Regions from separate parts of the Homo sapiens genome. Here region 1 is linked to region 2. Evidence: promoter capture Hi-C in 16 types of primary human blood cells and fetal thymus (Javierre and others, 2016). All regions are on one chromosome and are shown on one strand. Each heading gives the region's core, a stretch centred on a gene start or on the middle of the fragment in contact. The rest is flanking DNA. Distances are from core to core; before and after follow the strand shown. Region 1 overlaps ZFPM1 (zinc finger protein, FOG family member 1). Region 2 holds the start of CA5A (carbonic anhydrase 5A).

The links. The method cuts DNA at HindIII sites, captures the fragments that hold promoters and counts their contacts. A CHiCAGO score of 5 or more calls a contact.
Region 1: a contact is called between a fragment that was not itself captured here and the fragment with the promoter of CA5A in region 2, in 10 of 17 cell types (endothelial precursors, total B cells, fetal thymus and 7 more). The highest score is 11.1, in endothelial precursors.

Annotation. Positions count from the first base shown.
Region 1 is chr16:88,521,795-88,527,236 of GRCh38, forward strand. It overlaps ZFPM1 (zinc finger protein, FOG family member 1), which reads left to right. Exons shown (of 10, transcript NM_153813.3): 5 at 5,020-5,122. It overlaps ZFPM1-AS1 (ZFPM1 antisense RNA 1), which reads right to left. Exons shown (of 4, transcript NR_148997.1): 3 at 227-326. Among named protein-coding and RNA genes, the nearest start is that of ZFPM1-AS1, 6.5 kb to the right of the region's middle. RefSeq lists enhancers at 3,666-4,253, 4,254-4,840, 5,068-5,442. The HindIII fragment of the contact is 918 bases long and covers 2,874-3,791 here.
Region 2 is chr16:87,935,233-87,940,689 of GRCh38, forward strand. CA5A (carbonic anhydrase 5A) reads right to left here and starts at 1,297. Exons shown (of 7, transcript NM_001739.2): 1 at 1,077-1,297. The coding sequence starts at 1,218. The HindIII fragment of the contact is 28,449 bases long and covers 1-5,457 here.

The sequences.
Region 1 (5,442 bases), core at 2,083-4,582, 590 kb after region 2:
CTCCCCTGTGCTGTTCCCTCCCCTGTGCTGTTCCCTCCCCTATGCTGTTCCCTCTCCATGCTGTTCCCTCCTCTCTGTTTCCTCCCCCGTGCTGTTCCTTGGCCCCCTCGTATCCACACCCTCCCCTCCTCACCCTCCAGGTCTCGGCCAACATCCTGGCACAGCCACCCCCACTCCCCGTCTCAGCCTGTCCCGTGTCTCTGTCGCTGCCCCTCCAGGTGCCTACCTGCTATTTCTGGGCGGCTCCACACTCCAGGACTCACGGGAGATGCAGTTCTGTTCACTGTGTTCCCCACACCTGGCAACAGCTGGTGCACAAGGCCTGCCTGCCGGATAAGGGAGTGAGTGAGTGTGTGACCCAGTGGATGAAGTGGCAGCAGCAAGGCGGCAGGGGTCTCACGGACCTGGCTTGTAGTCGTGCAGGCCTCAGGCCCTCACCTGGGAAGTGTACTCCTTGCATGGTCGAGGGAGACAGAGGCACTGAGGGACCAGCTGGTGCCTCTGTTAAGGTGATGGGGAGGTGGAGGACTTCTCAGGGTGGGCTGGAGGAAAGACGGGCTGGGGCCTCAGCAGCCTCAGCCTCAGCCTCAGCTCCCACCCTCCCGTGAACCTGCTGCTGGCCCACTACCCCGCAGTGTCCTGGGGATGACCAAGCAGCCCCACGGGGCTTCTGCAGGACCGGCCGTTTGGCTCCATGGGCCGGGCCACCCCAGCAGCCCTGCAAGCTGCTTCAGAGCTTCACAGCGAGGTTTGGGAACGGCCTCAGATAAAGTTGTCACAGCGGATGCTGCACAGATAGGGTTTCCGATGGCTATCGGTGCCACCGCAGAATCAAGACACTGACCTCTTTGTTGGGGGAAACAAGGAACATTCTCAGGTCCGCCCGGGGAATTTAAAGTGGCCACTGCTGGTGGGGCCGGCCAGGGCCCAGAGGAGGGACAGGGCAACCCCAAGGGGCGGCAAACAGGGTGGGCTCTAGCGTCCTCCGTGGACCCTGGACACACCTGCCTGACCAGGCTGGGTGCCGAGCCTGTGGCACCCTGGGAGGGAAGATGGCCGCAGCACCCACATCTCTGAGAGTCTTGGCAGAAGGGCCTGGTTTGGAAGTTAAAAATAGGCCCCCTCCCAAGGCCAGGCGCGGTGGTTCACGCCTGTAATCCCAGCACTTTGGGAGGCCAAGGCGGGCAGATCACCTGAGGTCAGCAGTTCAAGACCAGTCTGCCCAACATAGTGAAACCCCGTCCCTACTTAAACTACAAAAATTAGCTGGGTGTGGTGGTGCTTGCCTGTAATCCCAGCTACTCGGGAGGCTGAGGCAGGAGAATTGCTTGAACCCCGGAGGTGGAGGTTGCAGTGAGCCGAGATCATGCCATCGCACTCCAGGCTGGGGGACAAGAGTGAGACTTCATCTCAAAAAAAAAAAAAAAATAGGCCCCCTTCCCCCTTGCTCCCCAGTGCCCACAGGCAGAGCAGGGTCAGGAAGGGCCTGCAGCACCAGAGAAAGGGCTTCTGTTCCAGGCTGATCAGAGGTGGGGAAACAAGAAGAGACAGAAAAAAATCAACAGGCAGACCCGTGCCCGGCCAGCCCCTCCGCAAGGGAAGCAGAAGCTGAAATTGGCTTCCTGCCCCAGCGTCTCCTGGCCGCGGCCCCAGCAGTGGCTCCCAGGATGGGCGGGTGGCCCCGGGCTGGCTTCAGGGGTCCGGCCACTTGGCACCGGGCAAGACCCTGGTTCAGGGCTGGCCGTGTCCATGCCACCTCCAGGCTGGGGACCCTGGTGGCCCCAGGCGAGGCTGTGCTCACCTGTCCCCTGAGAGGTGTCAGGGTGGCCCCTGCATCCTCAGCAGCCAGGGCAGACTGGCAGGGAGGCCCTCACCCCTTCCCAGCCTGTGGTCGCAGAAGTAGGAGCGGCAGGCCCCTCTGAGAGTGTTTGGCAGTGGGGGCCGTGGCAGGGTGGCCGGAGCTGCTTATCTTGCACCCCTAGGTCTCCTACCTGTTCCCTCCCGGGTCGGGGGCGGGTGCCGGATGGGAGCCTCACCCTCCTTCCCCCTGCCCCTCCCCACCCGCACAGCCAGGCCAGGCGCCCCGTCGCGCCCCACATACGCGGGGTGCACTCGGCGGGGCCGGGCGGGAACATGGCGCCTGCCCTCCACTCGGGACCGCCACAGAAAAATCGGGGGTGCGTGCAGCGTCAGCACAGTTGCGGCGCGTGTTTTTATCATGCTGGGAACACGCTGCTCCTGGGAGTGATAAGCATTAAACCGGCCGGCAGGCTGTCAGTCTCAGTTTGAGGGTTTAGAAATATTGGGACGAATAATTAGATTTCATATCGTTACCGCAGCACCCATCGGAGGATCAAGCAGATTAATTTTTTTCACCCTCCTCTGCTCATTAATATTCATTAGAGGCTCAGGAAGGCCAGGGTGGGGAGGGCCAGGCCCCAGCAGCCTCGCCGAGCGCTGCCCGCCTGGCTCGGGAGCAGCCGGGACACAGTAGCCGCCGGTCACCCACCTTTGTGCCAGGAATGTGCCTGCCCATTGCCCCTGGGGTTTACCCCCCAGCCTGCCCCAGCAGAAGCCCCCATCGGAGCCGGCAGAGCCCCACAGCTGGCGTGCAGTTCCTGAGCCCTGCTCTGCGGCCCTGGGAATCACGGGGGTGTCCTTTAAAAGGGGGGCACCCACCCGATGCCAGCCTGCACAAAGCACCTTTCTCGGGGCAGCCACTCACCACAGTGGACACTCAGCATGTGCTGCCCCGGACATGCCCTGTGGACGGCACCCCATGCCCACTTTGTCCTGCCAGGTCAACCCAAAAGCAACAGCCAGGGCTGGAGCTAATATGCATCCTGTGCTGGGAACCTGCCAGGCAGGCAAAAAGCTTCACACAGATCATGGCCTCCCAACATACCGGGAGGAAACTGAGTCAAAGGAGATAGGACTGACCCCCCTGAGACTGCCCCAAAGGCTAATGGTGGGCTTCGGGTGGGTCCAGAGTGAGCAGGGGCTCGGCCGCCCCTCTGTCCCCCCAACAGCCATGTGGGGAGAGGGCAGAGCCCCGTCTGCAGAGGAGAACCTGAGCCAGGGGTTGGGGTGGCTGCTGGGGACGGCTTCACACTGGGACTGCAGGGTTGCACCCACCCCAGCCAGGGCACCCACCCCACTGGCCAGCTTAGCTCTGCTCACCCGTTCTGTGGCTGAGCCGTGTGGTAGCAGGCAGGTGACGTGGAAGCCACCTGCTCTGCTGGCCAGCCCGCCTGAACCTTGCCTGAGTAGTCACTGAACGTCCCAGCCCAAAGGCTGTATCTTGCTAGATTCCTGAGTGCCCTGCGGATGGGCCAAGAGGCAGGGGTGGCCCAGAGGGGTCCCTGCATACGGGTCTGGTCGTGCCCTGCCCAAGGTCGCAGCAGGGAGGCCGAGCCTGGCTGGGACCCCACTGCCCACCTCTGCGGCCCACAGGGTCCCACGCGTGCTGGCAAAGTCCAGGAAAGCTCATGGGCTGGCACCTAGTGGGGAGGTACCCCAGACCCACAGGGGACATCCCTGCACTGTCACCAGCCCGACCCCTTGTACCATGGCAGGGTTGGGCTGACTGCCATCCTCACCACAGGGCTGCACAAACCTGTCCCGGGCCAGCGGCAGCATTTGTAGGTGACACTGGCTTTTCAGGCAAAGGTCATGGTGCAGGAAGTTTCTGATTAAAAGGCATTCATTTGTATAGAACAAAAAGTGTGTTTACAGGAAGTGCTGGAGCACGCGTGTATGCTGTGCCTCCAGATTGGACACCCAGGTGGCTAAGCTTGGGGACCACCAGTGCAGTGAGCAGCACAGGGCTGAGGGTCAGGGCACTGAGGCTGAGTCAGCCTTGCAGGAGGGACCGAGGCCTGAGGGGCAGCGGCGGTCACCCCTTCCTCCGTCACCATTTTCTCCCCTTGATGTCTGACCAGTGTTGGGCACCACAGAGCGAGGCCATGGACTGCCCGCCCCACCTCGCCCTGTCCCAGCCCCCGACTGCACTGGGATGGGGCCCCTCGCATTTCCTCTGCCATTCAGCTGGGGGCCGGGGTGCAATGGATGCAGGAAACGAGGCGGCCTCCACGGGCTCGGCCCAGAGTGTTTTCCTTCCAGACTTAGCCTGAGCCACCGCCGACAGCATGGCATGGCCCGAGGCACTGGCATGAGCTCTGTCCCTCCCCTTCCCAGGCCTCAGTTTCCTCACCCATGAGATGGAGAGGAGGGTACTGCCTGCTTTCCAGGGTGACAGTGAGGCCAGGGGGGCCAGGGCCGATCCAACACAGTGCTGGTGTCTCAGGCCCACAGGAAGGGGCCTGACCAGCCTCAGGGTGGGGACAGACCTGCTGAGTCCACCAGGTGCTCCCCAGCGTCCGCCGTGTGCCGGCCCCGGGAGCGAGCGGGAACGCAGGTGGCCCTGCCACGCCCTGTGGCAGGGAGGGGAGCCATGCTGTCAGGAGGACACTGAGGCCCGAGGGTTGCTAGGGAAGTGCCGTATCTTCTGGGCTAATCTCGGCCCCAGCCCACAGAGGTCATTCTGGAGGCATCTAGGGCCTGTGTGGAAGGAGCCTCTACCAGGTCCAGCCCCTGTGGGAACAGCGGTTTCACACCCAGCACTCTGGGGGCAAGGGTGGGCGAGCAGTGGGGAGAACACAGATACGCAGACCCGGGTGTGAGTTCAGGCTCTGCTGCTCCCTGGCTGTGTGACCTGGAGCATGTTGCTCGACCTCTTTGGGCCTCAGTCTCCACAAGAACCCTGCGCCCAACCCTGGAAGGTACTACTCCCTGCCAAGCCTCCCAGCCCCAGCACGGTGTTAGCCCCACCGGTCAACTATGGCACAGATGGCCCATGCCACACCTCTGCCAGCTCTTGGGCCAATGACTGTCCACAGCTTGGCCTACCAGCCAAGCCGGGAGGCAGATCCGTGTCACAGATGCCCCACATACTCACGGGAACCCCCAGGCAGGCTGCTGACGGACCCCTCCCCACGTGTTCCTACCCTCCCCCCCCAGAGCCCAGCCCTGACCCTGCTGCTGGTGGACGAGGCCTGCTGGCTGAGGACGCTGCCCCAGGCCCTGACTGAGGCCGAGGCCAACACAGAGATCCACAGGAAGGGTCAGTATGACGCGGCACCTCCGTCCCAAGCCTTCCGGAAGGTGGGGGTCACTTGGCTCCCCCTGGGCTGAGCCCTTAAAGGGAAACCAGCCTGCTAGGGCAGGGGATGGGGCACAGGGAGCTGCTGGCCCCGGGCGCTGCAGCATGAGGCAGACACTCTACTGGGACCAGTCAGCCCAGACCATGAGTCCCTGTATGAGGGTCCCGACTGGCAGGCTGAGCCAGGACAGGTGTCCGTGGCGGGGGGGTGGGGGAGGATTCTGCCCCTCTGGGGGACACCGTGATCCCCGTATCTCCTCCCTGCCTTGGCTGCACCTCTG
Region 2 (5,457 bases), core at 47-2,546:
AGGCTCTCATTCTACGGAGGAAGCACCTGAGACCCAGAAAGAGGAAGGGCCTCGTTCAAGGTCACAAGGCACTGACCATGAAGCCAGGAGGGGCTGGCACGGGGCAGTTTCTTGGCAGAGCTGGCTGAGTGGTTTATTTGTTACAGGTTTGCTTGAAAGCGTTCTCTGCCGAAGAGTTTAGGAGCGATCGTGACTGGTTAGTGCAGCCCATTCCGCCGGGTCTGGATGGTGAGTCGTGCCAGTGTGTCCCGTGCGAACACGGACTACCCGCCTGCTCCCAGCATCTTGCCCTCCCCAGGACCCCTGAAACGGAGGCTAAATGATTCACCCAAGGTCACCAAATACAAGAGAAACGGAGTGTGGCCAGGCGCGGTGGCTCACGCCTGTAATCCTAGCACTTTGGGAGGCCAAGGTGGGTGGATCACCTGAGGTCAGGAGTTCGAGACCAGCCTGGCCAACATGGTGAAACCCCATCTCTACCAAAATACAAAAAATTAGCTGGGTGCAGTGGCGGGTGCCTGTAGTCCCAGTTACTTTGGAGGCTGAGGCAGGAGAATCACTTGAACCTGGAGGGCAGAGGTTGCAGTGAGCCGAGATCATGCCATTGCACTCTAGCCTGGGCAAAAGAGCAAAACTTCATCAAAAAAAGAAAAAAGAGGGCCGGGCGCCGTGGCTGATGCCTGCAATCCCAGCACTTTGGGAGGCTGAGACAGGCGGATCGCGAGGTTAGGAGTTCGAGACCAACCTGGCTAACACAGTGAAACCCTGTCTCTACTAAAAATACGAAAAATTAGCCAGGAGTGGTGGCATGCACCTATAGTCCCAGCTACTCAGGAAGCTGAGGCAGGAGAATCGCTTGAACCCGGGAAGTGGAGGTTGTGGTGAGCTGAGATCACGCCACTGTACTCCAGCCTGGGCCACAGAGCGAGACGCCATCTTAAAAAAAAAAAAAAAAAAACGGAGTGGAAATCTGAACCCATCTGGCTCGGGACGGTCTCTCCTCTCTCCTCTCGAAAGACCCCATCAGCTAAGACAAGGATCCAGTCGCATCTTAGGAAATTTGAGGCTCTACTTACAAGTGTTATTGCTGGTTTGCCATGCACAGGAACGCTGAGAACACCATCGCCCTGGCCTCATCGAACGACTCCAGAGAGGGGCCCACATCTGCTCAACCAAGAAGGAGAAAGCTGAGGTCTTCCAAGTGTTCCTCCCCAACATCTTGGGTCTGTTCCCACTGACTCCAGTCTGAAGAGGGTGATGTTCCCTGCTGTCTGTTCTCACTTTGATCAGGACCACTGTGGACTGGCGTGTACCCACCTCTTTTTGTAGAAACTCATCCCAACCCCTGAGCCTAATGGTTAAAGTTCAACCCATGCCTTTCCCAACAGGGTGGGTCCACAGGGATTAGTGGCCTCTGCTGGGGACAGGCCACTCAGGTCACTGGGCTTTGATCTGGCAAACAGGAGCACAAGTCTGCCAGGGAGCTAGAAAAACTGTACGGTGGGGCTGCGTGAGCACCAGGGGATTACGCGGGAGGCGGGGGCGAGTGGATGAGAGCAGAGTCCCTGTTTCTTTCATGGGGTTGACCGTGTGGTTTGGGGCTCCGGGACACTCAATACCAGGCACAAAGCCATGGTGTGCATGTGAGGAGGGACTGGCAGGCAGGCTCAGAAGTACAGGAATGGGACTGGCCAAAGCGCTGCTGGGTAGACAGGCCAGGGGAGCAGGGAGCTTCTGTCCACCCACCAGGGCTCCTGAAGTCATGGAGTCCTTGCTTGCCTTAAAATAGGTGCGATTTGATTCATTCATCCTCCCCGGAAGCAAGATGCCCTGTGGCTTCGGACACTTCCAGGTCATGCCTGCTGTCTTGGCATAAACATTAACAGGGCCACCTTTCTTTCTTTCCTTTTCTTTTTTTTTTTAGACAGAGTTTCACTTCTGTTGCCCAGGCTAGAGTGCAATGGCGTGATCTCGGCTCACTGCTACCTCTGCCTCCCAGGTTCAAGCAATTCTCCTGCCTCAGCCTCCTGAGTAGCTGGGATTACAGGCGCCCACCACCATGCCCAGCTAATTTTTTGTATTTTTAGTAGAGATGGGGTTTCACCACGTTGGCCAGGCTGGTGTTGAACTCCTGACCTCAGGTGATCTGCCTGCCTCGGCCTCCCAAAGTGCTGGGATTACAAGTGTGAGCCACTACGCCCAGCCTCTTTTCTTCGTTTCTTTTCTTTTCTTTCTTTCTTTTTTTGAGATGGAGTCTCGCTCTGTTGCCCAGGCTGGAGTGCAATGGCGTGATCCTGCCTCACTGCAACCTTTGCCTCCCAGGTTTAAGCAATTCTCCTGTCTCAGCCTCCTGAGTAGCTGGGATTATAGGCACACACCACCACAACGGCCAATTTTTTGTATTTTTAGTAGAGACGGGGTTTCACTGTGTTCCCCAAGCTGGTCTCGAACTCCTGAGCTCAGGCAATCCACCCACCTCGGCCTCCTAAAGTGCTAGGATTACAGGCATGAGCCACTGCGTCCAGCCTCTTTTCTTTTCTTTCTTTCTTTCTTTCTTTCTTTCTTTCTTTTTTTTTTTTTTTTTGAGGTGAGGTCTTGCTCTGTCACCCAAGGTGGAGTGCGGTGGTGCCATCATGGCTCACTGCAGTCTCAATCACCCAGGCTCAAGTGATCCTCCCTCCTCAGCCTCCCAAGTAGCTGGGACTATAGGTGCATGCCATTATGTCCAGCTAATTTTAAAAATTATTTGTAGAGGCAGGTTCTCGCCATGTTGCCCAGGCTGGTCTTGAACTCCTGGGCTCAAGCAATCCTCCCAGAGTGGCCTCCCAAAGTGCTCGGATTACAGGCATGAGCCACTGCCCCTGGCCTGGTACCTCCCTTCATGCCCAGGGTCCACATGGGTATGTTAGCTGGTCACTCTAGCCAGGCAGCTGGTGATATTTGCAGACGCCAACCCACAAAGAACCTTCCTTTGGGTCCTTTGAGCGGCACAGCAGTTTATTCACCCAGACACCTTTTACCTGTGAAATGGAACCCATGGGATTGGGATGCACCAGTTTGTGACTTCTTGTTGTTGTTTAAACTTACAATCTTTTAGGGGGCAGGGCTATCATAACTTTTCATAGAATCCTGGAATCTTAGATCTAGAAAACCCTACAGAACACAGGTGTTGAAATGCGAGTCCACTTGTAGGCTCCTGAAAGCCCAAGAATCCCACTGAAATCCCCCACACAATGGATAGGGTCTGCGGCTTTCGGCCACTGCTCTGGTGGGCCCAAGAGTTTGCTTGCATTTGTTTTGAGCAACAAAAACCAAGTCTGGATGATATGTTCTCTCCTTCCCACACAGTCATGGTGGAAATGCACCCACTCTTGGGAAGTCTGATTCATTGTCATTCATTCATTGACCCACTCACTCATTCATTGACTCACTCACTCACTCATTGACTCACTCACTCATTCACTCACTCACTCATTCATTCACTCACTCATTCATTCTCTCACTCAGTCAATCATTCATTCACTCATTCATTCATTCATTCACTCACTCATTCACTCACTTATTCATTCACTCACTCATTCACTCATTCACTCATTCATTCACTCATTCACTCATTCATTCATTCACTCATTAATTCATTGGCTTTTGCCTCCATTTCCTCATCTGTAAAGTAGGGAAGATTCTAGGATTCCATCATACACGATAACACTCTGTCGAGCTGTTGTTGACACAAGTGATGTCCTTAGAGCGGCACTTTCATTGCTGCAGGCCAAGCTCCCACCCCAGGCATTGCCAGCCCCATGTGAGCAGGGGCATCTCCTGAGTACACTCACCTGGGCAGCCGATGATGCCCCACAGGCTCCTGGGGCATGTCCTCTGCCATCCTCAGCCGTCCTGCCCTCTTCAGCCTGCCCAGTTTAGGTTGACTGCGTTGCAGCAGTACCCGTGGGCTGGGGGTCTCCCTGTCTTCCTCATCTCCCTGCTGCCCCATGGCAGGACTCTGCTTTACTTACAAAATATCACCAGCCCCAGTGTATTAATCAGGGTTCTCCAGAGAGACAGAACCAATGGGATAGACAAACAGATAGATAGATTAGAGAAAGAGAGAGAGAAAGAGATGATAGATAGATAGATAGATGATAGATTAGAGAGAGATGATAGCTAGATAGGTAGACAGATGACAGACAATAGATAGGTAGATAGATAGGTAGATAGATGGTAGATAATGGATAGATGAAGAAAGATGATTGGTAGGTAGATAGATGGTAGGTAGATGAGAGCTAGATGATAGATGACAGGTAGACATGTTACCAGATGGAAAGTCTTAACTTCGAGTTGTCCAGGTTCTTGGTGTGTTAAAGAATTGAGCAAAACACACAAACAAAGCAAGAAAAGAACAAGCAAGTGGCTCAAGAACCCTGATTACCATGTTCTTCAGGGTTTTTATTAAGCTAAAAGAATTTGGTAACACCCCCAGGTGCCCTTTAGAGGGCTCCAATTGGTTACATCCTATGAAGGATTGGCCCCTGACCAATCAGAGGCAGAAGTGGAGGCTTCTGTTCTGTTACCGCAGTAGTGAGACTGTGGCCCGTGTGCCGCCCAATCTTGCCTGGAACCGGCTGCTCCTGCTGCTCTTTTGCTTCTGCCTTAAACCTGGGTTACCCTCATTCCCTATTCTCCCGCCTCAGGTAGGTGATAGATAGAAATAAAGAGATAAATGATAGGTAGATCGATAGATAGATAGATAGATAGATAGATAGATGAATGAGAGGACATTAATTAGGGGAATTGGCCCATATGACTATGGAGGCTGAGAAGTTCCAGGACAGGCCACTGCAAGCTGGAGACCCTGGGGTGCTGGTAGCATGGCTCAGTCCAAGTCCGAAGGCCTCAGAACCAGGGAAGCTGAGGGTGTAACTCTCAGTCCAAGGCCAAAGGCCTGAGAACCCTGGGGCAGAGGGTGGCATTGGTGTAAGTCCTGGAGTCCCATGGCCGGGGAGCTGGGCGTTGTCCAAGGGAAGGAGAGGAAGCGCACGCCCCAGTCCGGCAGATGGACAGACACATTCACCTTTTCTCTGTTTTTGTTCTCTCTGGGTCCCAGCAGATTGGATGGTGCCACCCACATCCAGGTGGAACAGGAATTAAAACAAATTAAAGAATATGTAAGCAGAAACTCAGTTGTATGTAAGAAAACCCAATTCCCCCTGAGAAAGAGAAAGTGCTGAAGTCCTTTAAAATTAACTGCCTGTTTTTCTGTGGCTAGTGAGCCTTCTCTCTCCCTTTCCCAGGCATTGCGAAGACCCTGTTTCTCTAGCCGTGCAGCTGCAAGGTCATAAACAGATAAACTCAAGTCGCAACGCATGTTTTTCCTTGAAAAGTAAGAAATGATGTAACGCATGTCTCAATTAATTGAATAACTGTCTTTGTTTCTCGCTTCTGCAACGTGCTTCCCCCTAC